6 separate regions of the Homo sapiens genome follow, and regions 2, 3, 4, 5 and 6 are each linked to region 1. The links are contacts of gene promoters, found by promoter capture Hi-C in blood cells and fetal thymus (Javierre and others, 2016). All regions are on one chromosome and are shown on one strand. The core of a region is centred on a gene start or on the middle of the fragment in contact, and the rest is flanking DNA. Distances in the headings are between cores, read along the strand shown.

What was found. The method cuts DNA at HindIII sites, captures the fragments that hold promoters and counts their contacts. A CHiCAGO score of 5 or more calls a contact.
Region 2: a fragment that was not itself captured here is called in contact with the fragment with the promoter of BTBD9-AS1 in region 1 in 3 of 17 cell types (erythroblasts, fetal thymus and naive CD8 T cells); the score reaches 6.8 in erythroblasts.
Region 3: a contact is called between a fragment that was not itself captured here and the fragment with the promoter of BTBD9-AS1 in region 1, in 5 of 17 cell types (total CD4 T cells, endothelial precursors, fetal thymus and 2 more). The highest score is 7.6, in total CD4 T cells.
Region 4: a contact is called between the fragment with the promoter of ZFAND3 here and the fragment with the promoter of BTBD9-AS1 in region 1, in 1 of 17 cell types (M1 macrophages). The highest score is 6.2, in M1 macrophages.
Region 5: a contact is called between a fragment that was not itself captured here and the fragment with the promoter of BTBD9-AS1 in region 1, in 1 of 17 cell types (M2 macrophages). The highest score is 6.6, in M2 macrophages.
Region 6: a contact is called between a fragment that was not itself captured here and the fragment with the promoter of BTBD9-AS1 in region 1, in 1 of 17 cell types (M1 macrophages). The highest score is 6.5, in M1 macrophages.

Annotation. Positions count from the first base shown.
Region 1 is chr6:38,478,981-38,483,807 of GRCh38, reverse strand. BTBD9-AS1 (BTBD9 antisense RNA 1) reads right to left here and starts at 2,212. Exons shown (of 2, transcript NR_144472.1): 1 at 2,022-2,212; 2 at 1,281-1,741. The region is part of intron 6 of BTBD9 (BTB domain containing 9); the gene reads left to right. The HindIII fragment of the contact is 1,570 bases long and covers 2,015-3,584 here.
Region 2 is chr6:37,750,854-37,755,680 of GRCh38, reverse strand. No RefSeq gene overlaps it. Among named protein-coding and RNA genes, the nearest start is that of MDGA1, 55 kb to the right of the region's middle. The HindIII fragment of the contact is 2,829 bases long and covers 520-3,348 here.
Region 3 is chr6:37,775,170-37,779,996 of GRCh38, reverse strand. No RefSeq gene overlaps it. Among named protein-coding and RNA genes, the nearest start is that of ZFAND3-DT, 42 kb to the left of the region's middle. RefSeq lists enhancers at 2,333-2,402, 1,997-2,928, 2,996-3,546. The HindIII fragment of the contact is 7,839 bases long and covers 1-4,827 here.
Region 4 is chr6:37,816,830-37,821,656 of GRCh38, reverse strand. ZFAND3 (zinc finger AN1-type containing 3) reads right to left here and starts at 1,930. Exons shown (of 6, transcript NM_021943.3): 1 at 1,641-1,930. The coding sequence starts at 1,711. ZFAND3-DT (ZFAND3 divergent transcript) reads left to right here and starts at 2,270. Exons shown (of 2, transcript XR_007059569.1): 1 at 2,270-3,079; 2 at 3,167-4,827. RefSeq lists silencers at 1,304-1,473, 1,634-1,863, 1,904-2,283 and enhancers at 1,562-2,364, 2,334-2,723. The HindIII fragment of the contact is 21,540 bases long and covers 760-4,827 here.
Region 5 is chr6:37,859,397-37,864,223 of GRCh38, reverse strand. All of the region lies in intron 1 of ZFAND3 (zinc finger AN1-type containing 3), which reads right to left. Among named protein-coding and RNA genes, the nearest start is that of ZFAND3, 42 kb to the right of the region's middle. The HindIII fragment of the contact is 970 bases long and covers 2,358-3,327 here.
Region 6 is chr6:37,882,312-37,887,138 of GRCh38, reverse strand. The region is part of intron 1 of ZFAND3 (zinc finger AN1-type containing 3); the gene reads right to left. Among named protein-coding and RNA genes, the nearest start is that of ZFAND3, 65 kb to the right of the region's middle. The HindIII fragment of the contact is 9,022 bases long and covers 1-4,827 here.

The sequences.
Region 1 (4,827 bases), core at 963-3,462:
AATTACAAGAAGTTGGCTTGGCTATGCAGCAATCTAAGGGAGAAGTGTTCCAGGCTAGGGAACAGCAAGAGTAAAGGCTGTGAAGTAGAAACTAGCTTGGGGTTTTTGAGGAACAGAAAGAAGGCCATGTGTTTCTGAAATCTGGTGGGTAGATAGTCTGTAGGGTGTTGGGAGGAAGGTATGTTTAGCAATGAGGGCAGACAGATAGACAGGAGCCATGTCCTACAGGGACTTGATAGTGTCGAATTCTAAGGATGATGGGAAACCATAGAAGGGTTTAAACCAGGTGATGGTAGTTGAGATTTTTGAAAGATAACTCTAGTGTGATCTAGTGTGAGAATGGACTATAGGGAAGACCAGACAGCAGGTGGGCAAGGAAAAGTGAATACAAGAGACTGGGAAGGAGCTGCCAGTGAGGCAGGAAGAAAACAAGGACAACATTTTCATGGAAGTCTTAAAAAGTCAGTCTTTCGGTATGAGGAGGGGAGATGGGAGAGGGCAGTAGGTAACAGAAAATCGACTCCTGGTTGTAGCAAGATAGAGCTTAGTGGCGTCCTTTAAGAGCCATTTCAGTGGAGTCAAGGGAGAAGGGAATAGAGGCTGAGGGAATAGGGGTAGCAATACATGTAGAAGATAAAGTATCACTGGGAGGGGAAGCAGAGAAATGATGAAGAGGATGGAGGGGGACCTAGGGTCAAGGGAGGATGATGTTAAGGTATGTGTGTGTGTGGACTGGAATGATACCACAGGGAGGGAGGATTTGATAATGCAGGAGAGTGGATCTTTGTAGGGGCCGTGTACCTCATTATGGGAGAGGGGCTGGATCTCTAGCTCAAGGAGAAGATTGACTTTAGGTAGAATTGAGGTTCCTTCTTTTCCTGTAACAGGAGGAAAGGCAGAGTATGTAGAATAGATGTACCCAGATTGAAAGAGGCAAAAATGGAAGCCTTACCTTCATGTTGACAGTGCTTGTGCCTTGGTGGGTCTTTGTGGTATATCATGGCCTCAAGCTCTGTTTTTGCAGGTCCACTGAGTTATTTGTGCTATATATATTCTTTTCCTACCCAGGCCATCTATCTCAGATACAGATCTGTTTACATGTCTGTCTCCCCCACTAAACTGGCATCTCTTCAACAAGAGTAGTTATCTTTGTATCTCCAGACATAGCTCAGTGTTTGGCAAGAACTGAGTTGAAGGAATGACAGCTACATCAGTAGAAAGGACTCATATAACAGCTACACAAACATGCGGTAGAAAGGAAAGTAATTCAAGAGCATGAATAAAATTAAGTGTTTATATCTTAGAATAATTAATATGATTTCTCTCTTTTAAGTGGAATACATTGTTACTGAACACCAGAATTGAGGGGTAGCTAAAAGTAAAAAAAAAAAAAAAAGAAAGAGAAAGGATCACCTCACACCTCACTACCATCTGGAAAGAAGATGAGCTTTTAACAGCCCCTTTCAGTAGGGACGAGTTAGTGCCTGGCATGCTTTGGTGGGAAGCACATTTCTAGGTTCAGGAGAAAGTGAGAATCAAACGTGTCTGGGAAAAGGAGATCCCAGTGTGATCAGCTTGCTTGTGGAAGATTAGCAGGGGTTGGGGGCGTAGAGGGCTTCGGGCAAGAGTAAATGTTAATGAGAGATGGCTTAAGCAGACTTGTGCCCAAACGAGTGAGAACAATTTGACAGGAAGTTCAGTTGAGCATGTGTAGCACTTCTCCAAATGCTTTCTTCTTGGACTGGGAAGAAACACAACAAAACAAAATAGTTACTTTCCCCTTCAACATTATACAGCACATCCTAAATGAAACATGACTTTCTGAGTTACAAGCTGCCCCTGGCAAAAAGGCTGGTTATAATCTCAGTGTGTTCCCTGAAACTAATGTTCCTTGGGCACTCCAGATTTGTGTGACGTACTGTAAGTTATATCCAACTGAACTGTTCTTTTAACTGCCTGCATTAAGCATCATCAAATAAGTTGCGCTGAAAGGAACCACCTGAATAAAGAAGCTTTTATACCTTTGTAAGTCCTCACTGCATGACCCTAGGTCACTGCTGTTGAACTTGGGAGCTTTCTCTCCCACTTTTCACTCTCTTGCCTTTAATGGATGGGGGTCTCCACACCAGGTTTTCTTTCTCTCTCATCTGCCAGGTGCTAGCAAATGGTGCTGCCAGCCTCATTAGGGGAGAGGGGGTAGTGTGGAGGCAGGCACTGGCCCCTCCCTCATGTGCCCCGCTTCCCAGAGGCCTATGGGATACCAACTGAAAAGAGGTCGTGAGCAGAGCTGCTCACCCTGGAATTCATTTTCTCTAGACTCATTAAAATGCTGCCTTCCTATCTCCCTTGGATTTTTACTTTTCAAAACACTTTACGATGTGCGGCCTCATTTTATTTTACATTAAGCTGACAACCTAACATCTCACCAAGTATCAACTGGGAATACAATTTTGCACTCACTGTGCTGTGCCATCTTGCCAAGTTTTGTCTTTGTTACTCAGCTCTCATTCAGAAAGGAATTAATTTGAATTATATGATGCTATGGTTGTCTCCTTGAAGAAGGGCTAGATTCCTGCACACCTTGGGAAAGTATCTATCTGTGAATGTACTTGAATCTTCCAGGTTATATGCCATTCTTCTCTCTTCTTTCCCTTTCACATCATCATGGGCTCCTCTCACGTTAGAATAAACCTTTCTGTTTTGCCTCTCCCTACTCAATGGGATTTCCATTGTTTCTGTCTTCACTTCCTTTTACCTGGGAGAAGCTGATACTGATGGAAAGGCATTTTTGAGTCTAGATATAAAGCTCTTTGTTTAAAGAGCATTTTTAAAAGAAGGGAATTTTTACATTGCCAAAGGTACCCAGGTGTTGCCTTCCTTCCCCATGAGGATTTTGCACAGAGCGCACATTCATACCCACTATCTCTTAGTGTCAGCCTGTGTGATGGCTATATGCTGTCTACCAACACTACAGTCTGTTTGGGAAGCGCCAAATCTTGGGTAGGCACTGGATCTAAAACTGGCACTGGAATCATCCACTCAGAGGAAGAAAGATTGAGGTCAGGTGGGGAATAAGACAGGCAAGTTGTCAGGCTTCTTTTCAGATGGTTCTCAGAGTACACTTCCATTACTTAGAACAGTGGGTTTGGTGGGGGGTTTTGGCGTGTTCTATAGCTGAGCTACAAGCAAAATTAGAGCTTTTTACTTATATACTACTTTGCATGGAGGTAGTCTCAGGGTCCCAGTTACAGCACTGATTTCTTGAAAAGAGTTTGATGTTCTGGCCCATGCTTAATTTAAATGAGAGGCTAAAAGCAGATTGTGTAACCCACCAATGCCCATTTGACAGGACTTGCACCAATCTGACCTACACTTTCATAAGAGCTCCTAAGCAGAGTGCTGTACTGTGGGTCTTCTGCCTTAACTCCAGGAATGGCAGAGATGAGCTACTGTTTATTGAGCACCGACAAAGGAGAGGTACTCTGAGTGTTGAATGCATGCTGTCTCTCAGCCCACAAGAGCCCTGCAAAGGAAGTGCATTGCTCCCCGTATTTATGGATGAGGAAGCTGAGTATCAAGAAGCTTGCTCAGAATCATGCAGCTAGCAAGGAGCAAGGCAGGGTTTCAGAGCTACGTTTATCTGTTTCCAAAGAGTACACTCTCCCCTCAATTCCCAGTAGTACTTCTCCAGTAAATCTTAAGTATTGTATTGCTTTTTTCCCTTCTATTTCTCTTAGCAGTCTATAGAAAAGAGCGTTTATTTAAAGATTTTAGTGCTCATCTGGGCATAGTGACTCATGCCTGTAATCTCCACACCTTGGGAGGCCGAGGCAGGAGGATCGCTTGAGCCCAGGAGTTCCAGACCAGCCTGGGCAACATGACGGAACCCTTTCTCTACCAAAAATACAAAAGTTAGCTGGGCATGGTGGTGCACACCTGTAGTCCCAGCTACTCAGGAGGCTGAGGCAGCGGGATTGCTTGAGCCCGAGAGGTGGAGGTTGCAGTGAGCCGAGATCACGCCACTGCACTCTAGCCTGGGCGACAGAGCCAGATCCTGTCTTTTAAAAATAAAAATAAAAATAAAAAAAGATTTTAGTGCCCCCTATAACTTGAGGCTTGGATTCTGAAGTGAAAGTTGTTGTTCTGAGAGGTGTTGATTGAGCAGTAGTAATACCAACTACATCAGTGGGACTTGGTGGCCCAGTCACACGGATGCAGTCAGAAAGGGAGTGTTACCTCATAAAGCAGTGATTCAAGCCTGGGCTTGGATTTTAAAATGTTGGAAAGTTGTGAAGAAATGGGATTTTTTTTTTCTTCCAAAGATTGTAATAACTTTGCCATTGTACCATTAACATAGTCACCACCTCATGTTTGTCATGTAACCAATTTATGTTTTTACTAACATTGAGGAAATGATTTTTTTTATGCTTCCTCCTTTCTATCTTTCAATTTTTTCCCATCTACACTGTGTGGATTATCAGATAAACAGGAAGGTCAGTGCTCGCTTAACCAGGGTTTGGCCAGTGCTCAGTGGGTGGGAAGCCGTCGGGAGAGGAGCTGGAGGGGTTGTGTGTCTGAACCCCTGTGCTCCACATTGGGCGCCTGTCAGGTTCCACTGACTTTTCATTGTATATTTGGAAACTCTTTCATAGCCAGAGCAAAGCCCAGGGAAATCTCTCCTCCTGTGGTGTTGGTCGCGTTCTTGTAGTTTCCATTTGATAACAGCATAGTTTACAGAGAACTTTTTGAGCTTTTGGAGAACTCCTGAGACTTATTTTGTCTTTGCCTGCAGCCAAAATAATTGAAGCATTGTCAGTCTATTTCAGC
Region 2 (4,827 bases), core at 685-3,184, 730 kb after region 1:
CTTGGACTCCTCTGTGCCGCCAACTGGATGAGAAGCCCGGAGCCAGTGCCTCAGTGGTCTTATCTGTAAGATGGCGATAGTGAGAGTCACCTCACTAGGTTACCGTAGGGATACATGTTAAGTATATGGTACATAGTGGGTGTTTAATAAGTGGCACATACAATGATGATCATAGTTATCATTATTCCAGGGCAAAACTTCTCTCCTAGACACTCAGTTCCCCAAATGGCGGCCTCCTTGCCTCTGCCCAGAGACTCTCCTGAGCCTCCCGCTGTCCCGGTCATCTAGCTCAGCACAGTGACTTCTCTCCCCATCTCCTGCTGCCTGACCCAGTTTCTGTGAAAACCCATGTTTCTCACGGAGCAGAGATGGCAGAGTCACATCTACAGGTCTCATCATCCTATTAGGACAACATCAGGGTAAACATTAGTTATTCACAAACCCAATTACATTTTGATTACTCTGACCCAAGTGAGATTGGGGTTACTCTCACTCCACATTTATTTTTTGGTACAAGCTTCTTAAGTTGCCAGGAGAGGAAAACAACCCCACTGCCTTCCACTCTACCCAGGCAGGAATCTTCTGGGTTCCTTATTTTCTTCTCCTTCCCTGTTCCTAAATGCAGCTGTATCTGGGCACTTGGCCATTCAATGGGGAGCAGAAGGGGCTGGTCCAAGGAGAGAGGGAATTTCAGTTAGAGTGGAGGGAGAACTTCCAACAGGGAAGGGGGCAGGAGAGGATGGGAGGAGAAGTCAGAGTGTCTTTGCCCAGCTGGGGAGACTTGGGAGCTGCGTGCATTCGGGGCCAGGTAGTGGGCTGACCTCCCAACGCCTGGGATGCACCGCCACATTCTCCGCTGTGCCTCTGGTTGACATGTTCGGACTTGAACTCTGGATCTTCTGTGAAAACTGCCTCTCCCATAGTCTTCCCCATCTCAGTAAAGCCTTCCAGTGGCTCAGGCCAAAACCCTTGGTTGTCATCCACAGCTCCTTTCTTTTTTGCTTTTTCTTTTTATTTATTTATTTTTTTGAGATAAGAGTCTCGCTCTGTCACTCAGGCTGGAGTGCAGTGGTGTCATCTCAGCTCATTGCAACCTCCGCCTCCTAGGTTCAAGCGATTCTCCTGCCTCAGCCTCCCTAGTAGCTGGGATTACAGGCACGTGCTACCACACCCGGCTTATTTTTGTATTTTTAGTAGAGATGGGGTTTCGCCATGTTGGCCAGGTTGGTCTCGAACTCCTGACCTCAGGTGATCTGCACATCTCAGTCTCCCAAAGTGCTGAGATTACAGGCGTGAGTCACTGCTCTGGGGCCACAGCTCCTTTCTTTCACTCTAATGCACTAGCGAATCCTTTGGTTCCACCTCAACCTATGTATCTCACCAGCTCCACGACTCCCACCCGCTGGTCTAATCCACTGCCAGATGACTGCAGTTCCCAGATGTCTCTCCCATGACAGTCCGTTTTCAACAGAGCCACCAGAGTGACCCTTTTCAGTGTGTGTTGACCAAGTCACTTTGCCATTTGAAATGCCACAAGGGGTTTCTTTCTCTCAGAGGAAAGCCTGGGTCCTTGCAATGCCTCCCAGGCCACCCCCCGCTCCCTGGCCAGGCCCCCCCACACGCCCCTGCCTGCTCTCTGGCCAGGCCCCCGTGCCCCCCTGCCCGCTCTCTGGCCAGGCCCGCGTGCCCCCCTGCCCGCTCCCTGGCCAGGCCCGCGTGCCCCCCTGCCCGCTCCCTGGCCAGGCCCCCCACGTGCCTCTGCCCGCTCCTTGGCCAGGCCCCCCACGCGCCCCTGCCCGCTCCCTGGCCAGGCCCCCCACGCGCCCCTGCCCGCTCCTTGGCCAGGCCCCCCACACGCCCCTGCCCGCTCCCTGGCCAGGCCCCCCACGCGCCCCTGCCCGCTCCTTGGCCAGGCCCCCCACGCGCCCCTGCCCGCTCCCTGGCCAGGCCCCCCACGCGCCCCTGCCTGGTCTCTGGCCAGGCCCCCCACGTGCCCCTGCCTGCTCGCTGGCTTTGCCTCCATGGCTCTTCCCTCACGCTGTGCTCCAGCCACAAAGATGCCAAGCACAGTCTGGCCTCTGGCTTTGGCACTTGCTGTTCCTGTGGTTGGGACGCTTTCCTCACAGATAGCCACGTGTTTGTGCCTCCCCTTCTTCAGACCTCTGCTCCAGAGTCACCTCACCAAGGAAGCCATCTCTATCTGCCAGGTCACAGCAGAAAGCAGGCCACATAGATTCAGATCCTGTGAGGAGAGTCTACACAGGTGTGGGCAGGGGGTTTGGAACCCACAGGGATAGTGCAGGACCCCCAGGCAATTGACTGGGGAGGGGGTTCAAGAAGGGTGGGTGCAGCTGTTGCAAGGCCAGACAGGATGGGGAGGTTGTGGGAGGCAGCTATTAGAGAATCCCAAAATAAAAAGGGCTGCCTGGAAAGGGTGACCTGATAGAGGCTGAGATCCTTGGTCAAGGGAAGCATCCACCCTCTGCTTCCGGGCTTCTCGGGGACTCCCCACTGGCTGAATTCCATGGAAGCCAGAGGGCAGGGAGCTGGGTGATGCCGTCCATGCAGGCCAGCCTCCCAGGGCACAGACCTGGGTGAAGAAGAGTAGAGAGTGGGTCTGGAGGGGGCAAAGGAAGGATGTCCAGGTCATCACCTGAATAGTGACCACATTATTTAAACCCCCAGTACTCCATCCCTCTTCCTTATTTCTCTCTTTTTTTGAGATGGGATCTTGCTATGTTGCCCAGGCTGGTCTCTAATTCTTGGGCTCAAGCGATCCTCCCACCTCAGCCTCCGGAGTAGCTGGGATTACAGGCATGAGCCAACATGCCCAGCTCCTGCTTGTTTTTCTGTATACCACTTAACATCTTCTTAAAATATCCATAATTTTTTTCCTTACTCACTGGATTGTAAGCTCCACAAAGCTGGGGATTTTGTCTGTTTTGTTTATGAATGCATCCCCAGTGCCTAGAACAATGACTGGTATATCATAAATGCTCAATAAATGTGTGCTCGAGGAGTGAATGAGTGACCAAAAGAGGGAGGCAGTAGTGGGGAGGGGCCAGGTGAGAGCTAATATGGCCTGAGGTCTCTTCCTACAGCCCAAGGTCTCTGGGTTTCACTCCGAAAACTGCCATTGGTAATAGAGAAAGAATGCATTTGTTGTTCAGGTAATTGGTAGTAACTGACAGTAATTTCAAGTAATTAAACACTAATTAATTCAATGAGTCAGTAATGTATTTATTTATGGTATCTGTGTTTGTTCCCTTATAAATATTGGCATTACTTTTGTCAGGTAATTAAAATCCACTGGGAAAGTCACTGAGGTCCCAGGAGATTGCGGAAGCTTGGCTTGGCCTTGGCCAAGAATGAGCACTGGAACGGAGGCTGGACGAAGGCCCCGGGTTGGAGCTCATATAGGACGGGCTTAGATACTGGTGAGGGGTTGTGCAAGTGTTTAGCTGATGTTAGTTTGGGACTGGGGAATGAGACAATCAATCACAAAATCCTTTCCAAGTTATCGACTTCCTCTTTTATTCCCCTCCCCAATTCAAAAGTATTCTTTTAGGCTGTAATACGTGAGGTTCATTGGGGACACTGGCTGTAGACAGTCCTCTCCTCCCCGACTTCTTTTCCAAGGAAACAGCAGTGTCCCAAGCCCCTGGACCTCTGCCCTGGGGTCTGATCTCTTGGCACTAGACCACCCAATTATGGGCTGGATAGAAGATGGAGAAGGAGAGGAAAGGAGATGTGGAAGGACCCAGAGCAGGACCTGAAGGGGGTGGGGAGAGCAGAGGAGATCCTGATCTCAGAAGAGGCAAGCCCGAGGCTTTGGGGGTCTCAGTGACTTCGGGCCAGGCAGGTCCCATAGATGGGTTGGCCTGGAAGGACAGCGTGATGGCAGTCACAGAAGATATCACCCCCATCTTTCTAGATTCCCAGCCCACACTCCCCCAGTACCCTCAAACTAGAAGTGTCAAATGTTACGGTTTCTCAGAGGCTAGGGTTTTATGAACCCCCCAGAACTGCTATTCCTTTTCCCGGTGCGGCCTTTCCCCCTCCACAGTGACAGTGGGGATGCATTAAGGCACAGACTGTGGAGTCAGATGACAAAGGGTCAGATGCTGGGCATGATGTGTTGGGCAAGTGAATTAACATTTCTGAGCCTCAGTTTTATCATCTGTGAATTAGGGCTGATGATAGTATCTGCCCCACAGAGTTGTTAAAATGTTTAAATGTGCTTATGCCCCTAAAGCGCTTAGCCCACAGGGCCTCACAGGTAGGAAATGCTCAATTCACATTAGGTATTTGAATGGCTGATGTAGGTGACTGGCCCCCCTGTGACTCACCTTTTGTGTTCCAGTTTGTCCTCACCTCTAATCTCAAGGAAGCTTCTGTCTCTGCTGGTCCTGACCAGTCTTAAGAATATTGCTTCCGGCCGGGCGCGGTGGCTCACGCCTGTAATCCCAGCACTTTGGGAGGCCGAGGCGGGTGGATCATGAGGTCAGGAGATCAAGACCATCCTGGCTAACAAGGTGAAACCCCGTCTCTACTAAAAATACAAAAAATTAGCCGGGCGCGGTGGCGGGCGCCTGTAGTCCCAGCTACTCGGGAGGCTGAGGCAGGAGAATGGCGTGAACCCGGGAAGCGGAGCTTGCAGTGAGCTGAGATTGCGCCACTGCACTCCAGCCTGGGCGACAGAGCGAGACTCCGTCTCAAAAAAAAAAAAAAAAAAAAAAAAAGAATATTGCTTCCAAAGGCTCAAAAGTTTCTCCACGTCTTTCCTTCTAGATTTGCAGTGGGCACCTTCTTAACAACAGACCTCTA
Region 3 (4,827 bases), core at 742-3,241, 700 kb after region 1:
GAAGATTAATTATCAGACAGATCTTGGCCACTCCCAAGGTGCCCCTAGCTGCCCTTGCTGCGCCCTCAAGTCAGAGAGGATGGAGTTTGGATGTTCCCACCCATGACCTGCCCTATCTGATCCCAGGTGAGAGAGCAGGGACAGGAGATGGGGGTCTGTGGGTCTGGGCCTGGAGGAAATAGCAGGGAGACAGAAGGACGGGGGATGGGGGCAGGGGGAGGGGCCTGTAGGGAGTGATTGCAGAGAGACCCCCAGGAGAATGTAAAGTAAATGCAAAATATGCAAACCATTAGTGATTAGTTGTGGGTCAATTACTCAGGTCCTCTGAGTCATAAGTTGGCAGCTGTGCACTCCAAGCCTCTGATTGGGCCCAGGGGAGGGCCAGCTGGCATGACCTTGGGGGGCCTGGCCCAGGACCTCCAGCCCCTCAGGTCACCAGCCCTTCTGGGCAGCCTCCCAGGCCACCACCCCTGGGCAATAAGGGATCCAGGCAGCTGGAGGATCAGAGAAACCTCTGTTCATGCTACAAACCGCCCCACCTGCTCCAGAGCACAGGCAGCCCTCAGCCTCAAGGCGGCCATGCCAAGCTCACCCACTGAGGGTACTGGGGCCAAGTCTCTTCTCTCCCCTCCCCTTTCATGGTGTGCAAATTTCCCTTCTTCCCTCCCCCTCCACCCTACCCTTTTCCCTCTGGCCTCTCAGCCTCTGTCTGAATAGCCCCACTTCCTCCCTCTCTCCACCTGTTAATGATTCCCAGTGACCTTGCCTCAGTACCTCGGATGGGAAATACCAACTTCAATGCCTTTGTGCCTCAGTCACTTAATTTGCACCTGGTTCTCATTTGACACATTTAGAGGGCCCAGCCAGCCCTGGGGCAGGGAGGGAGAAGGGAGACCTCCTCTATCACCTCACTTCATTGAGAACACCGGCAGCTGCTGATGGGAGCTGCCAGTCATGCCTGCCTCTGAGGGCAGCTTGTCCATCTTGCTGCCTCCCACCAGGCCATGCTGGGCACATAAGGAGGGCTTTCCATGCTGGCAGGACCCAGGGAGATCCCATCACCTTCTGAATATCTGAGCCTGCCCCCAAGACCACTTGAGGGGGCAAATTCTTCCTGGGGTCTCTGCCACGGCAGGGAGAGAGAAGTAAATTAATCAATACTGTATTTGCCAAGTCCCTGCCATGTGGCTGGCAGTGCTCTGGGTACAGTGCTATAAAATGAAGTGAAGGAGTGGGCACAATGTATTCAGAGAAACCACCTTTTCTGAAACCCCCTTCCTCAATGTGCCCTGCCAGCAAGATGAGGTCTGTAGGCCTGTGGGCCTGAGTGGGGAACTCCATCTCTGGGGCATTCTCTGGGAAAGTGAGGGGCCCCTGAAGCAGGTGGTGAGGGAGACCCAGAGGGTAGAAGGAGGAGGCATCTGGCCCAACCTTTGCCCCAGGGGATGGGGTGACAGGAGCCTTAACCAGTGACACTGGACCCCACAGTCTGGCCCTCAGTAGTGGTGGATGTGGGTAGCAAGGGGGCACCAGGCAGTTCTGAGCAGTTATGGATGGAGGACAGTAGGGGAGGAGCCCCTAAAATCCTCATGCCAGTTCCGTGGAGTGCTGACTCCAGGAGGATGTGTTGAGCTTGGCATTTTCCTGCACAGTAACTCCTGGAGTCAGACACTTTGTTGTTAGGGGTGGCAATGGTGGTGGTGTTTGTCTCTTATCTGGCCCAGGGACCCTCACCTCTTCCCCAGTTTTCTCCATCACACTCCCTTTCCTTCTAGGAAGAGAAGCCAGGAGGCAAAGAGGAGGAGCTGGGAGATGTGGGGGCTCTCTGAGCCATGATGAAAGTGGGAAGTCACTGCATGGAGCCTCCTCATCTGTAAAATGGGGGTGCTCCTGCCTGCCTCCTGGGGTTGTGGGAATCAGATGAGAATGTTGAGGTGCTCTGGGGACTTGAAAGTTTTATGTAAGGGTAGGGTCTCAAGTGCATGGCCTCCCCATGAGGGTGGCTTTGCAGGCTCATGGAGAGGTGTAAGTTACGGCGGCATGCTGGTTCTACTTGCCCTTCTCCTTCTACCACCCCCTCCCCACCTTCCTGAGAACTCAGGTACGCACTGTCTCCATTGCAGAATGTTTGGTAGCCACTCCCCTTCCCCCACAGCCTCAGGAAGACCCACTCCTCTCCCAGTTTTCCTCTCCCCTCCCAGTCTTCCCCCGTCCCCCCACAACACAGCAGTCTCCTTTGTGACATTGCTAGGATGGCTGGGAATCACGCCCTCTACCTCCCAGGGGCCTCTCCAGTGTGAGAGCCACATCAGCTTTCCAGTATCCCCCACTGTGGTGGCCCAGACACCCGCTGGCTGCCCATGACCTTCAAGCAGTGCTAGGATCCTCTTTCAACTCTCCTCCCCGCTCCTCCAGCTTCAGGCCCCGCTGCTTGTGGCCAGCCTTAAGGCTGCTGTCTCTGCAGCCACGAGGGGAGGATCAGGTGTCTAGTGACTGGGGCCTGACTCCTCCCTGGGGCCCAGGAGAAATCGAACATTTTCTCTTCCCATCTTTGACTCGGCAGCCTGAGAGCCTGAGCCCCCACTTCTGAAACCGGAGCAGAGAAATGCATGCGGTTGGGAAACCACCTGCAGAACTTGGCTGGATCCTGGGCAGCCTGAGGTGCAAGATGCTTGGCTGGGCTGGGCTTGAGGATGGAAGGGGTGGGCCAAGAAAGAAAGATAGACAGGGCCTGGATGAGGGTGCCTCACTCACCTCAGGCATCAAATTTTAGGGGTGCCAAAAAACTCAGCAATTAAGAGACTTAATACTTGAATGAGCTAGTTTTAAAAATCAAAATTAATGCAAAACAAGATCTGTGATTGTGGCGGGCAGAATGATGCCCCCCTCCTGAAGAGGTCTACGTGCTCTAAAATTCGTGAATATGCTAAATTATATGGCAAAGGGGAGATCGGGTGCAGGCGGAAGAAAGGTTGCTAATCAGCAGACCTTGAGGTAGGGGGAGGAGCCTGAGTTGTCCAGGTGGAGCCAATGTAATCATAAGGGTCCTTAAAAGCAGAAGAGGGCGGCAGAAGAGTTGGAATCGGGGAAAGAAATGTCATGGCGGAAGTAGAGTCAGAGAAGTATGGTGTGAGAAAGACTCGCCTGGCTTTGAAGACGTTTGGAGGCCACTGCCAAGGACTGCAAGCAACCTCTGGAAACTAGAAAAGGCGAGAAAGCAGATGTTCCCCCAGAGCCTCCAGAAGGAAATGAAGTCCTGCTGACACCTTGTTTTTAGCTCAGTGAGACCGGTGTCAGACTGTGACTTACAGAACTGGGAACTAATAAACTTGTGTTGTTTTAAGGCACTAGGTTTGTGGTAATTTACGACAGCAGCAATAAGAAACTAATACAATGAAGAACCGAATACCAGCCTTTTACATAAAGACAGGCTCAGGAGATGATAGGCCCCCGGCCTGCGGACAACAGCCTTCGTGCTCATGCCCACTCAGTTCAGCCCTTGAACTGCGGGTGAGATCAAGGGGGCGGGGACGACAAGCCAGAGGTAAGAGGGGAGTTGGGGGCACTATGGCAGCTCCCGAGATTCACTGACTGGCAGGAGCATGGTGTCAGGGTGTGGTGGGAGTGGGGAGATAGGAGGGAGTGAAGAGAGGAAAGAAGAGGTGGGAAGAGGATAGAGGAACAAAGAGCATTGAGGCACAGCTAGAATCAGGCACAGAAGACTCAGAGGACCGGGTGCGGTGGCTCATGCCTGTAATCCCAGCACTTTGGGAGGCTAAGGTGAGCAGATCAGTTGAGGTCAGGAGTTCAAGACCAGCCTGGCCAACTTGGTGAAACCCCATCTCTACAAAAAATACAAAAATTAGCCAGGCACAGTGGCACACGCCTGTAATCCCAGCTACTCGGGAGGCTGAGGCAGGAGAATCGCTTGAACCCGGGAGGCAGAGGTTGCAGTGAGCTGAAACTGTGCCACTGCACTCCAGCCTGGGCAACAGAGCCAGACTCTGTCTCAAAAAAAGACTCAGAGAATTAGAGCTGGAGGTAGAAGTAAAAATTAGCGATCTCACTAATTTCTGTTTGGCTGGCATGTTAGTATTATATTAATATTCACTGATGTTTATAAATTACAATTATACATAGACATTGTTAAAAAGTCAAATACTTAAAGGCTTATAATGAAACAGCCATTTCCACACTGGCCTTCTGCACCCTGCAGTCCTGCTCCTGAGAGGCAGCCATTTTTAAGTGTTAACTGTTTTGGTTTTTTCCTAGTATTTTCAGATTTCTATGCAAAAAAATACTTATTTTCCTATTGATGTTTTAGTTTTAAGTATAAACTATTGCCTTTATAGTATGGAAGATGAAAACGTTAAGTTTGCTAAACCCAACCCTCCACTTTTTCTCCACCAATGTAGTTTTATCATTTTATTCCATCTTTTAAATTAATTTAATAGAGACAAGGTCTTGTTACGTTTCCAGGTTGGCCTCTAACTCCTGGACTGAAGCGATCTTTCCACCCCAGCCAGAGTAGCTGAGACTACAGGCATGCGCCATCATACCTGGCTCCACTTTTTTTCACATTTTAATACATCAATATTCAATGTTTATTTTATTATGATTTTGCAAATATTATTCATGGTTGAGCCAAAAAGTAGACTCTGATTACATTTTGAAAATTGTATTACCCTGCTTCCTGTGGAGTTAATTACTGGCTCTGTTAAAAAAAAAAAAAAAAAATCTTAGGCCAGGTGTGGTGGCTCACGCCTGTAATCCCAGCACTTTGGGAGGTCGAGGTGAGCAGATCATGAGGTCAGGAGATCGAGACCA
Region 4 (4,827 bases), core at 681-3,180, 660 kb after region 1:
AATGAGTTACAATCTGAGGCTTGTGACACAAGATTTTTCCAGGGCAGCAGACTGATACCATAAACATGATGGTACTACGCACTCTAAAGAGCTCACCAGCTCCACCCTACACTCCCTGTGTGAAGCGGCAAATTATCCACCCAAAGCCTCAGTTTCCCCAGCTAATAATGAGATAATGGTTCCTACCTCGCAAGATTCTTGTGGGAATTAGACAGTCCATGAAAGCACTTCACAGGCAAACCAATTATTTTCAAATCAAAATGAAGGGAAGACTAGAAATATTTTCACATTTTTAGGACTTTTTATATGCCACAACTTATTTTTGACTAATGTCCTTCCACAGGGAAATTTTTGAGAAAGGCAGAAAAATGAGAAAATGAAAATCCACTTCTTTGTCATAACCTTGAGATACGACAACTTCCACAGAAGTCTACATTAAGATCCACTTTCTAATCTTTCTCTGCACTCCCAAAATTACTCTTAATTTCTGTTAACCATTCCTACAATATGGGAGATAGCAAAGGGAAAACTACTTCCATACTTCTTCCCAAGATGTCCTCACCAGAAACAATCTTCCTTCCTGCCTCTATGTCTCCAAATATACGGAATCTCTCAAAAAATAAAACTAAAACAAAACGATAAAAGAGAAAAGGGACTCAAATCACAAAAGCCAGCCTTCAAAGTCTCCAGCTTTCTTACTGCAGAACTACAGTCATGTGGTATGATGGAGGCACCTGTTAGGTGGCAATCCATGAAGCTTAAAGTGTTACCAGGAGAATTTAAACAGTAATGGGGGGAGGAAGAGGAGCTGATTTCCCACCTCACATTTTTTTCGCCTTAACACATGATGGCCAAACAATATATGCTACCCACTGTCAACATTTTTATCATTTTTACTTAAATTGAGAAAGAGGAGAATTTGAGAGCCAACTGAGGAAACTGGATCTCATATTCCCCAATCCAGGCTGACTTCAGGTTTTGTGTGGTTTTTTTCTTCCTTTTTGACAAGGAAATTTTACATATCTCCTGAAACGTGTTTTACATGAAGGTGAGACCTCAACAATCTTATAACTTTACCCCAGCCTGGTTCTGGACTCGGTTTTTACAAACGGGTGACGTGTGAATAGCTTCCTAAAAGCAAATGGGGCACTGGGATATAATCTAGGAAGTGATGATGCAAGTCTCCGGAGGACGGGGAGGAGGGGAGGTGAAGAAGTCAGAGGAAATACCCTCCTAGTGCCTGGGCACCAACTCACGCCCCGGGAGGGAGGAAGGGCTGGCTTCCACATGCCCACGGAAGGGGCACCCCTGCTCCTCCCGGAGCGGTCAACGCCGCCCCCTCATCCCTCCCCGCCGCCCTGCCCCCCTCACCCGTGGCCCAGGAGGCCCCCGTGGGCCCGAGCTTCAGGCCGGCGAGTCCCAAAGGGTAGCAACGCACCCCCGGCAGGGCCTTCTCTGCCCACCCCCAGCTCCCCACCCGGCACCCCTCCCCGGAACGCGACCCCCACCCCCTCCCCGTAGGCCCGGGCTGGGCCCAGCCTCCAAGGTTCCGGCCTCCCGGGCCCCGAGGCCTGCCCAGGCTGCCCTGGCGTCTGCGCCCCCGGCCCCCGCCCCCCGCCCCCACCCGGCCGGGCACTTACCCCCAGAAGCCGCAGGGACAGCGAGGCGGCAGGCTGGGCGCTTTGCTGCGCTCGCTCCCAGCGTCTCCCATGGTGCTCGGCGGCGGCGGAGCTCGGCGGCGGCAGCGGTGGCGGCGGCTGGGCCCGGGCCCCGCTCTGAGGAGGCGGTGGCGGCGGCGTCGGGGGGCTCGGGGCGGGGGGAGGGGGAAGGAGCGGGCGCGCGGGCGGGCGCGAGTCCGGGGCTCGGAGCCGGGATTCCAGGCCGGTCAGCTGGAGGCGGGCCGCACCACTCGGCCTGCGGAGACGGGGAGGGGGCGGAGAGGCGCGGAGAGAAGAAGGAGGGAGCCGAGGAGGAGGGGCGTGCGGACGCACCGAGGACCGCGGGGGAGGAGGGACACAGACGCCCTCGGCGGGTCTCACCGCCGCTCCCCAGCCAGAGAGATGTCCTGTGCGGTGGCGCAGGGAAGGACCGGAGCCCCCCGCCGGCTCCGGAGTCGCAGCGGCCGCTCTGAAGCCCCGGGCCCTGCTGTCTCCGTAACACCGTCCCCTCCCCCGGAGGCTGCGCTGACCGGACAATGGCCGCTCCGCCCCCTCCCCGGCGTGCGCCCCTCCCGAGGAGTCACAATGGTCTCGCCCGGGGGAGCCAACGCCAAAGCCCAGCCGCTGATCAGCTGGGATCCGGGCGTGCCACTTCGTTCCGCGCCTCAAAGGCGGAGTGCGGGGCTGTGGGAGAAAACGAGAGCCTCGGGCTGTCGCCCGGCGACGGGCGGCTGAGGCCTTCGTATTCTTAGAACTTTTAGAATCTGAAGCAAACTTATCTTCCCCCTGTCTGAAGAAGGGGAGCAGGTTTCTGAGTACTCCGGGGCGCGGTGCCTCCCCCTAAACGCGAATGGTGCGCTCCAAGCGGGAGGGGGAGGAGCAGATTAGTTGTGTAGGGTAAATTGGGCCAGTCCCAGAGTGGCGGCGCATGCGCCCGTAGAACCCGTAACCGAGTGCGAGGAGGGGCCTGGGGGAGCAATGCCAAACGCGGAAGTGGAGCTCTGGCTTCCCGGGGGCGTCGGAGTCAAGGTCCCTGGAGCTGCCGCTCTGGCTCCTGGGCGATTCCGGGGAGCCATTCTCCCCAATTTGCCAACTCCCTGGGCATCTCTCTCTCTCTTCCTGGTCCCGCCACACCCAAACAACTCTTATAGTTCCACCCGGTATACTGGTCTCTTGACAGGAACTTTTGGGAAATGCCCCTCCCCCAGCCCCTTGTCTGGGGCAACTTCCTTGTCTCTTCTCCCCCACCGGTGTTGGGGAGTTCCTTGTCTCCACTCCCAACCACAGAGCCACAAGTACATTATCTATGCCCAGGCGAGTCCCTATGCCCAGGCTAGGAGAGCCGCACTTCTTCCTACAGCTGACACGTTTGGTTTTTGGAGGGGAAAGGGGAGCTGTAGCTGAATCAGTAATGGAAATTGGTAAGTGACCAAAGAAGTTTGAGACACTAAAAAAATGAGTCCTTTAACGATCCTAGTCCTTGATCCTGAGCTCATTCTGATCTCCAGTTAGTCATGAACAGAGAAATCGATTATTGATGACTAATTCAACACGGAGGCAACATCCTCCAGACCTTTTGGAGACCCATCGCTGAGGAAGACTTCCTGGCTCTTAGGAATAGCTGCCGTATACCCTCCTTGCCTGTCGGGTATATCAGAGCCTCAGAGAGACTATTACCTAGATTAATTTGATTACCAAATGTTGCTATCTTATTTCTTTATATACCAAATCACATTTCTGTTTGTGCATACTGTGTGGGTTTGTTAACATTGATGTTTATTTTGGCCTCTAAAGAGCAAGGATCGCATTTAGCTTAATATGCCACAGATGCTGTTGATGGTGAAGTTAATGATTGCAAAAATCAAGCACTTAAAGCCAAAACACCCTAAAATGTGAGTGCTGATTTATTATGCACAATGTTTAGTTTTAATTTGGTGGATTTTCCAAAGCCTTCAATAAGTATATCTGTAAGAAAGTGCATAGAAAAAGCCGGACGCTGTGGCTCACGTCTGTAATCCCAGCACTTTGGGAGGCCAAGACGGGTGGATCACCTGAGGTCAGGAGTTCGAGACCAGCTTGGCTAACATGGTGAAACCCCGTCGCTAGTTAAAAAAAAAATACAAAAACTTAGCCGGGCATGGTGGCACGCGTGTAATCCCAGCTACTTGGGAGGCTGAGGCAGGAGAATCGCTTGAACCCGGAGGGCGGGTGTTGCAGTGAGCCGAGATCATGCCATTGCACTCCAGCCTGGGCAACAAGAGCGAGAGCGAAACTCTGTCTCAAAAAAAGAAAGAAAGAAAGAAAAAATGCATAGAAAGGATAAAGCCATACAGCACACCTTGCTCTCATTGGATTCATATTACCCTTAAATCTTCATTTAAGCCGACATAAAATTCCCACATGCGTGAGATACTTAACAGCCTTTGAGTTTAACAAAGATTAAGTGGGATTATCTCTCTTGGCATCTTGATGATTTTCTTTTATGTACAGAAAAGGAAACTCGACAACTAAAAGGAGAATTCAACATAAAAAGTGATTGTCATTTTCCAAACTGCTTTCCTGTTTGCCAGTTATTCAACAAACATTTATTCAGTACCCAGTATACACAAGGACTTTGCTAAGCACTCTGGAGACTAAAAGGATTAATAAAATGTAGCATTCACCAGCAGGTCCCTACATATAATGTAGATAATTTGGTTCCAGTCTTCCTCTCAGACTTCATTTTCTACTCTTCTCTATTCACTCTGCGAAGCAGACACTAGTTGCCATTCCTCAAATACCTTGCTTTCCCACATCTCCATTCCTTTGTCCTCCTGTTCCTGACTGCTTCAGCTGCCTTTTCTCTTTATATGTATACACACAACACAAGGAGATAATCTTATACAACCCAAGGACACAGAGAGCAGTAAGATCGCATGAAGGACTGAAATAGGTACCTAATACATCAACAGGAAGCCAAGTGTTTGGTTTTTTTCGATATCTTTTTCTCTCTGGTTACAGGTTCTTCCATCTCTGCTTCTCTCTACAAAGCTGCTTTATAATCTCGGCAGAGCTGTTTTCACTGCTTTTTTGGGAACGTAATCCAGGTTTACCCAGCCTCACTTCAAGAACAAACAGAGACTAATTAGTATCTATGAATCCCAATCCCCAGGAGAAAGAAACTGATTGG
Region 5 (4,827 bases), core at 1,593-4,092, 620 kb after region 1:
GTCAGAAACAGTAAGAGTCTCTATCCTGGTCCTCGGTAATACAGAGAGCTCCCAAATAAAATATATGTATTACAGAGCAATTCAGCCAAATATACAGTCTCTGATTTTCACATGGCCTACACAAACTTTATGTTCATTAAACATAAGGTGCAAATATTAAACACAAATTTTGAGTTGCAAACCCCAATTCACATTCAAACTTTTAGAACAAGCAAAAGCTGTCTAAACAACATATGCTATCCCAGCCACTGTTTGTCACTAGTCTAGTGACAAATCATGGAGATGGATTCAGACCTCAAAGCAAAAGCTCTATTTAATTTGAGCTCTATTTAATTGCCACTAGACTTAGTCCAGCCACAATCCCTGCCCTCATGGAGCTTAGCGTATGCCATCAACCCAATCCATCCACCCATTTTAGAGCAACAATGTGATGTGACAGGATTTGGCATATTGTCCAAACGCTACTTGTCCTGGACTGGTTTGTCTCCCAGAACAGATGACTGACTGCCTGGTCCTAATTAAGTGGATACTATAATCAAAGCCATGACTGCTTACCCATTTGAAAATATGTTTCAGAAACCATTTTGGTTAAACTGAAAAAGAAAAAAAAAAAAACCTGTGAAACCTAAAACTGTTAAGCAATAACACTAAAACAGGTCATCATTAAAAATCAAAGAAATCACTAGTTCTATTATCAACCTTTTGGTGTGTCTTTATTGTCATTTGAAGAGTCAGGGTGAAAGACAAGTGATGTAGCACTTCTGTTTTTAATAATTACAGTTTAAACTACCTGTAGGTTGGTGCAAAAGTAATTGCGGTTTTTGGTCCTTAAAAGGGACTTGAGGAACCTACCCAGGATTACAGAAGTTTCTTTCCACCTAATGAGACAGTCTGGCAATTTACTAGTTTTGTATCTGATTCAATAGAAATATTTCAAAGTGGTATGTGACCACTTGATGTGGAATGTGGGTTTCCTTCTAATAAATCCCTTTGCCAAATGCAGGGAGTTGCAGACTTGCCTCTGGCAAGAGTAAATAAAGCAAATAGGTGAATAAACTTATCCTGATGTGGGAGCATTCTCCTATTGGAGTTCAGTCTTGATCAAAGTGTCAGCGCAGGAATCAGACTCCTAGGAAGGTTACAGTATCTCCTGACAAGACCTGCCAACCACAGCAATAGTGTTGCCATTACTCGATGCCTGCCTTCTGATGGATTTGGGTGAGTAGCTGAGCAAGCCAAGGGGAGGCTGGGTGATTAAATAAGAAATAGGGGATTTTTAGTTAGACAAGGCTTCATCTGAGAAAAAAAAAAACGTTAACAAATAATCAGTTGGAAGTTGGCCCAAATATTTTCCCTGGAAAATACCCATTTTTTTTTCCCAGCAAAATTTTGTTAGGGGTTATGTTATTGAGGAATGAACTGACATGAATACGTGGAGATGTTCTGTAATACCATACTATGCTAGACATCTGAAGGCCCAGGGCACTTTGTTTTTTTTTTGTTTTGTTTTGTTTTTTTTAGAGACAGGATCTCGCTCTGTCACCCAGGCTGGAGTGTTGTGGCACGATCACAGCTCATTGCAGCCTTGACCTCCCCAGCTCAAGCCTCCTGAGTGAGCTCAAGTGAGCCCGCCCACCTCAACCTCCTGAGTAGCTGAGCCTATAGGCAAGCACCACCATGCCTGCTTTTTCTTTTTTTTTTTTTTGGAAAGATAGGGTCTCACTATGTCACCCAGGTCTCAACTCCTGGGCTCAAGCAATCCTCCAGCCTCAGCCTCCCAAGGTGCTGGGATTATAGCCATGAGCCACTGTGCTCAGCCCCTGCAGCAGATTTAAATTCCAACTCGTTATAACTTCTTAAAAGACTATGAAAATATCAAAATGTACATGAATCAAGTTTTAAGATACTGTATGATGGGTGAATGAGGCCGTCTACTGTACCATTTCTTTCTTTGAATTCTTAGGCATGGTTTGGCAGTGCAAGAACTTTGCAATATTAATAAATTCAATAAAAAGTAAACATATGGTTAAAAAACAACAAAAATCAAAATATAACTTAAAAATTAAATTTTTTAACATTAAAAAATTCAATAAAAAGTAAACATATAAAAAAGTAAACAGAAATCAAAACATAACTTAAAAAATAAAATTTTCTTAGGCTATTTCCTCTTTGAGCACATTTTTAAAAAATAATTCTGAAGTCATAGCCCAACTTAATAAGAAAGAATGTTATGAATCAATTATTCCATTTGCATCAGTGACAACACTGGGAAAGATTATAAGAAAATGCTTATGATGCAGAGCAGCAAAACACATACAACATATTTTCTATTTCTACTTGAAATAGTTCAATAAGCTTACAAGGCTCTAAAAACAGTGAAATATTAGAATAAAGCTCCAGTTATCCATATGTAATGCTTAAAAAGAAGTATTTCTAAGTAAATTTTGGAGTGTGAAAACCACACATCATAATACATAAGGCTCTGTGGTACTAACCAACTCTCTCTGAAGTTATTGCTAGAGGAGCACAGACTTATTTGCAGCCAGATATATGGAGGATGAAAACCTAGAAGTTTCATAATTCTTTCATAATATTTCATAATAGTTTTAACCCCTGTAAGTCTTACTTTCTTCACCTGTGAAATGTAGACACTCATACCACACCAGAAGATTAATGCTGGGATCAAATCAAGTAAGTACGTAAAGCCCCTGAAACAGTTCTTTTTTCACTGTACCCTTAATAAATTACACTAATTTCCTACTCGTCTTTTTTATCATGTTGTCCCCTCAGCCTGGAATGCCTGTCCTTTTCCTCCCCGCTCCTGTCTACCTAGACCACATCATTTCTTCAGTGTCCTTTTCTAGTCACTCTTGATACCCACTTTATCTACAACACTATGATAGCCTTTCTCATCTTTGAAATCAAACTGTTTACTTTCATCATGCTATTTTTTTATTTTTATTTTTTGAGACACAGCCTAGCTCTGTCGCCCAGGCAGGAGTGCAGTGGCACGATCTTGGCTCACTGCAACCTCCACCTCCCAGGCTCAAGCAATTCTCATGCCTCAGCCTCCCAAGTAGCTTAGATTATAAGAGTGTGCCACCATGCCTGGCTAATTTTTTTATTTTTAGTAAAAACAGGGTTTCACCATGTTGGCCAGGCTGGTCTTGAACTCCTTGCCAAGTGATTTGCCCGCCTGGGACTCCCAAGTGCTAGGATTACAAGTGTGAGCCACCACGCCCGGCCTTATGCTATTTAACTAGACATTGCTCTCATTTTTATTTAACATTTCACTGGCATATGGTACAGATTTCCAGCAGAGAAGCTTTAAGGCTTCATGGAGTACCATATCTCATCCTTCTACATCCACCTCAACACCTATCAGTGCTTTACAGAAACTAAGCCACATCCCATAAATGAATAAATGATCAAATAAAGGCACAGAAATTACAAGTTGTTCTGTTTGAAAAAAAAAAACTGGGTGAAAAAGGTACCTGATGTGGCCGTCACAAACAGAGAAGAGTAAATATATGGTATATAGTGTTAACTAAAATCTAAACCTACTTAAAAAAAAAAAAAAAAAAAACTAAGTGAATATCCCCTTGGCACTAAACATCACTGCAAACAAGTCCAAATGAGGAAAGACATAATGCAATCAATTTCTTACTCAAAATGATACCCCCTATAACTTTAGCCACTTCTACAGAGAATAAAAAATTTGACAGATATTCTCAGGTCTGAATTAGGATTCTGCTTTTCCTAACTCACTGTCTTCCTAAAAAGTCAGCCAGCAGGGGGAGTGCAAATTCATTAACATCATAGTCACAAAATACTTATGGCTAACAAATTTTTGAAATTCTGGAATTTCTTTTTAAGTCAAACTTCTGAATATAAGCCACAAAAACTACTGGAGGCCATGCATTTTAAAACCATAATATTTTATAATATTATTCCTCTTTACTATGTAAGTACTCCATAAAACTGCCACTTCTTACCTCAGGTCCTTTTGGGTTTACAGGTACATTCCAAAAAAAAAAAAAAAAAACTCTTTTTGGCCTGGCACGGTGGTTCACGCCTGTAATCCCAGCACTTTGGGAGGCCGAGGCGGGTGGATCACCTGAGGTCAGGAGTTCGAGACCTGGTGAAACCCCACGTCTACTAAAAAATACAAAAAAAAAAAAAAAATTAGCTGGGCGTAGTGGCAGGCTCCTGTAATCCCAGCCACTTAGGAGGCTGAGGCAGGAGAATCACTCAAACCCAGGAGGTGGTGGTTGCAGTGAGCCGAGATCACGCCACTGCACTCCAGCCTGGGTGACAAGAGCAAGAGTCTATCTCAAAAAAAGAAAGAAAAAAAAAAAAAACCCACTCCAGCCTGGGCAACAGAGCTAGACTCTATCTCAGGAAAAAAAAAAACCCTTTTTAAAGACAGAAAAATAAATCATTATTCATCAAAATTCAAATGACAATGGAGAAAAGCTACTACATTCTAAAATGTTACACAAACTGATTGAGGTACAAGGCCAGTCCCACAATATTTGCAAGCCATTCATGAATTCAATCCTCACCTATCACTGAAATCAAAGCCTCACCTGAAGGTCTCCAGCCTGCTGCTATCATGCCCCTCCCCAATAAGCAAACATTAATTTTTAGCTCATGACCATAAGATATGAAAATAGACCATAAGATCAGAAAATTGGTAGGTAGAAATTATGTATTTTGTAACATACAATATACTATTTAAAGAGCAACAAAGTCTCTGGTGACAACTACAGACAATCATAGCTACAGATGGTATGGAAGAGCGATGAAGAGAAGAAAGGGTTCAGC
Region 6 (4,827 bases), core at 1,183-3,682, 600 kb after region 1:
TATCACAACACTTCTTACTTCATTAAAACATTCTTTATGCTTGATAATTTTCAGATTGATAATACATTACCAGATTAAGGAATAGGAGTATGATATACAATGATATACAACTAACAGTTTTTGGTTCTTTTTTTGAGACAGGGTCTCACTCTGTCACCCAGGCTGGGGTGAAGTGTATGTGATGTCAGCTCACTGCAGCCTCTGCCTCCCAAGGTCAAGCAATTCATGTGCCTAAGCCTCCTGAGTAGCTGGAATTACAGGCATGTGCCACCACACCTGGCTAATTTTGGGGTTTTTTGTTTTTTTAGTAGAGACTGGGTTTTGCCATGTTGGCCAACCTGGTCTTGAACCCCTGGCCTCAAGTGATGCGCCCACCTTGGCCTCCCAAAGTATCAGGATTACAGGCGTGAACCACCACGTCCAGACAACTAATAGCTTCTTAATTATAAAATCCAAAACATGGAATTCTCACTTGTAGCATATGCATGGATACTCATGCACATGTACCTCAGTACCACCTTCTTAATAGCTTTACTGAGCAACAGTGCTGAAGAGACCAATGTGGAATCAAGGGTCCTTTCCATGATATGACTGCAGAAAATCTCCTGTGATTAGAAACCACTACTTCTGACCCAAACAACTTGTACTATTTTAGGATTCAGCCTTTCAAACCAACAAGGCTTGTGTTCTAACAAATCAAATCTAAATTCCTAATTGTACAGACAGAAAACTGAGGCCCAGAGATGCACAAGTGATTTACCTAAGATCACATTACTGAATTTAAACCTACCATTGGTTTCTTTGTCATTAAGGTTGGTTGTAGTAATCAAGGTTGAGTAACAGCATATTCTTTGAACTTTTTTTTTTTTTTTTTTTTTTTTTTTTTTTTTTTTTTTTTTTTGAGACAGAGTCTCGCTCTGTAGCCTAGGCTGGAGTGCAGTGGCGCAATCTCAGCTCACTGCAACCTCCACCTCCTGGGTTCAAGCAATTCTCCTGCCACAGCCTCCTGAATAGCTGGGACTACAGGCACCTGCCTCCACGCCCGGCTGGTTTTTGTATTTTTAATAGAGATGGGGTTTCACCATTTTGGCCAGGCTGGTCTCGAACTCCTGACCTCAAGTGATCCACCCACCTCAGCTTCCCAAAGTGCTGGGATTACTGGCATAAGCCACCGCACCTGGCCTGTTCGAACTTAAAATAGTTGTTCAGTTGCTTCCGCTCAGAAGTATACTGACTTCTGGCTGGGCTCACACGTGTAATCCCAGCACTTTGGGAGGCTGAGGCAGGAGGATCACTTGAGCCTAGGAGTTGGCAAAGTATACTGACTTTTTCTGCCCCTCTCCCCAAGCAAACAAATTCTATGCCCAATTAAGTGCTGTCTTTTAAAGGAGTAATCTCAAGGAAATAATTTTGGACATCAACACCATTACTCAAATAAGGTTGAAATTCTTCAGAACTGTCTTCAGCTCTACATCTATTTTTATTTATTTATTTTGAGACAGAGTCTTGCTCTGTCAGCCAGGCTAGAGTGCAGTGGCACGATCTCAGCTCACTGCAACCTCCGCCTCCCAGGCTCAAGCAATTCTCCTGCCTCAGTCTCTCAAGTAGCTGGGATTACAGGCGTATGCCACCACACCTGGCTAATTTTTGTATTTTTAGAAGAAACGGGGTTTCACCATGTTGGCCAGGCTGGTCTCTAACTCCTGACCTCAGTTAATCTGCCCTCCACAGCCCCCCAGAGTGCTGGGATTACAGACGTGAGCCACCGCGTCTAGCCCAGATCTTCATTTATAAACCATATAAATGTATTCCTAGGGATGAGGAAACCAAGGTCACACAAGTCTTGTGACTCCAAATCTCTGGAAATATTCTTTTCATTGCTCTTTATAGTCACCTCAATAGAGACCTTTAGTATCCTTCAACTTGACAATTACCCACCCCTTTTTTCCCAATCTTGTCTCTAAAAAACATGTTAATCATTTCTCCCACCCAAAGACAAATACAAGCTCCAAAAGATGATTGGCCACCAGAGATGCTCTTCAGTACCTGAGTACAGATTCAAGAGGCCCCCAAGACATTCTGAGCAATGATGGTACTGTTGGAAGAAAGAGGCTCGAAAACTAGATTTCTGAAAACAATCATGTGGATGTCTGTTACAAGAGCCTTGTTAGATTTACTCATCTCATTTCCATCAGAAATGGAATTTGAAGGTGGAGGGAAAATATAGATGAATTCAAAATTCCAACCCAAAATTCACATGTGGATTTGGAAACTAGTCCTATCTGGCAAGGGCTAGAGTGACTGAAGTATGATAAATGTTCTCTATGCAACAGCAACTTGAGGAATCCACTGATAATTTTTCTTCTTCATTCACATCTCTCAGAAAAGCGTTCTGAGTGACATCACTGCATACCTGGAATGACCCTACAATCTAATGTACTTGTTGGTAATCTTGCCCTGCCACTTGATATTTAGAGTAGCAGATAAATGACAAATGATTTTCATTTGGCCTTTTGGTCTAGAGTATTTCATTGGTATTTTGGTCTGGAGCTTGAAGCCACACTGGAATTACAGCCTAACAATCTCTCAAAAGACATGCAAACTTACCTGATGTAATTCTTTTTTTTTTTTTTTTTTTTTTTTTGAGCTAGAGTTTCGCTCTTTTTGCCCAGGCTGGAGTGCAATGGCGCGATCTTGGCTCACCGCAATCTCCGCCTCCCAGGTTCAAGTGGTTCTCCTGCCTCAGCCTCCCAAGTAGCTGGGATTACAGGCATGCGCCACCACGCCTGGCTAATTTTGTATTTTTTAGTAAAGATAAGGTTTCTCTGTGTTGGCCAGGCTGGTCTCAAACTCTCGACCTCAGGTGATCCACCCACCTCAGCCGCCCAAAGTGCTGGGATTACAGGCGTGAGCCACCGCATCCAGCCACCTGACGTAATTCTCAATTCTCACTTTCCTGAATCAAGGTATATTTCATTTTCAATCACTTGTAAAGCCCTGATTAGACTCAAACAATATCAAAACCATTCTAATCTCCCACTTCCATGTGATCAAGTTAAAAATCAATCTCTATTATAAGAGCTACACATACATCAGAACTCTAGACATCTTTCCCTACCCAGGAGCTCTAGGGCCCTTGTAAAGCTCTTGGTCATCCAAGTTTTCTCCACCAAGGATGACTATAACCTTCAGAAACTCTGGCTAAAGGTTCCCAGGCCTGGCGAATCTCCTGAACATACATTATGAACTAGTTAGGTGGACGGGAGAAAGGGAAATAGATAATGAAAAGGTATCCATCAAGCCGGGCACGGCGGCTCACGCCTGTAATCCCAGCACTTTGGGAGGCCGAGACAGGTGGATCATGAGGTCAGGAGTTCAAGACCAGCCTGACCAAGATGGTGAAACCTTGTCTCTACTAAAAATACAAAAATTAGCCAGGCATGGTGGCGGGCACCTGTAATCCCAGCTACTCAGGAGGCTGAGGCAGAGAATTGCTTGAACCCAGGAGGCAGAGGTTGCAGTGAGCCAAGATTGTGCCGCTGCACTCCAGCCTGGGCAACAGAGCGAGACTCCGTCTCAAAAAAAAAAAAGAAAGAAAGAAAAGAAAAGGTATACATCATTTAAATATGGGGTAGATTTCTACAGTCTTCATTATTTAAAATATCTGCAAACAAAACTCATTTGTAGTCTGGGTACTTTCTATACGTTCAACAGCGAAGGGTAGGGGGTGGGGGCCATCCAATGTTAATTCTCTTTACTGTGACAATATTGCTGGTACAGTAAGATAAAACTATCTTAGGATGCTAAACTTACTCTCTGGATGTGCTTTGTACACTGCTTGTACTATGTGTGACTCACTTTATTGACTTTATTAACTAGGACTGTAAGATGCTTTAGTTTTGTTTGTGTTTTTGTACAAAAAGAGTCTCATTCTGTCACCCAGGCTGTAGAGCAGTGGCGTGATCATAGTTCACTGCAACCTCAAACTCCTGGGCTCAAGGGATCTTCCCAATGTAGCCTCCCAAGTGGCTAGGACTACAGGTGCACAACTCTATACCGAGCTAATTGTTTTTAAATTTTTTTGTAGAGAAGGGGTCTCACTATGTTGCCCAGGCTGGTCTTGAACTCCTGGCCTCAAATGATTCTTCTGCCTTGGCCTCTCAAAGTGCTAGGATTATAGGCATGAGACAATGCACCCAGGCTACATGTTTTAAATATAGCCATACACTGGATGGTACTAGAGAAACATTAAGCAACCACTGGAATGTCCTGAGCAAGAGAAAATGTTTATGGGATAAACACAAAGAAATTCCAAAGTCCCACAGTGAACAGACATAGAAACAAAGAGGATTTCTGTAAAGAAATGCCAAAAGAAGTGGCCAGCTACTCCCTGTTCATTATCTTTGTATGCAGCCCAGACCAGGTAGTGGGCTAACCTAGTCTGGCCATGGCCCACATCTCTAATATCCAAAAGGGTGGAAGGGTGGGGGGCACAAACACTCCAAACCAAACAAATGGGGGTGGTGGGGATTGGGAGGGGCACAGACCAGTGAGGTTGGCATTTCCCAATTATATGGGAATTACATTCATTTCCTTCTCCAAGGGGGAAGTATAGCAGCAGTGTGTGTAGCAGGGACTAAACCCTAGGACTAATCCAGAAAAACATAGCTTGCCATGCAATCCTTTCAAGCATCAAAGGGACCCTAGGCCTGGGAGCCCTAACCTTAACAAGTATCCTATCCTTGGGCAAAGGGAAGGAGGAAGAGAATTGGGGGGGCGGCTATATCATGCTTCTGATTTGACTACTGCCCCCAAAATAAACAGAAT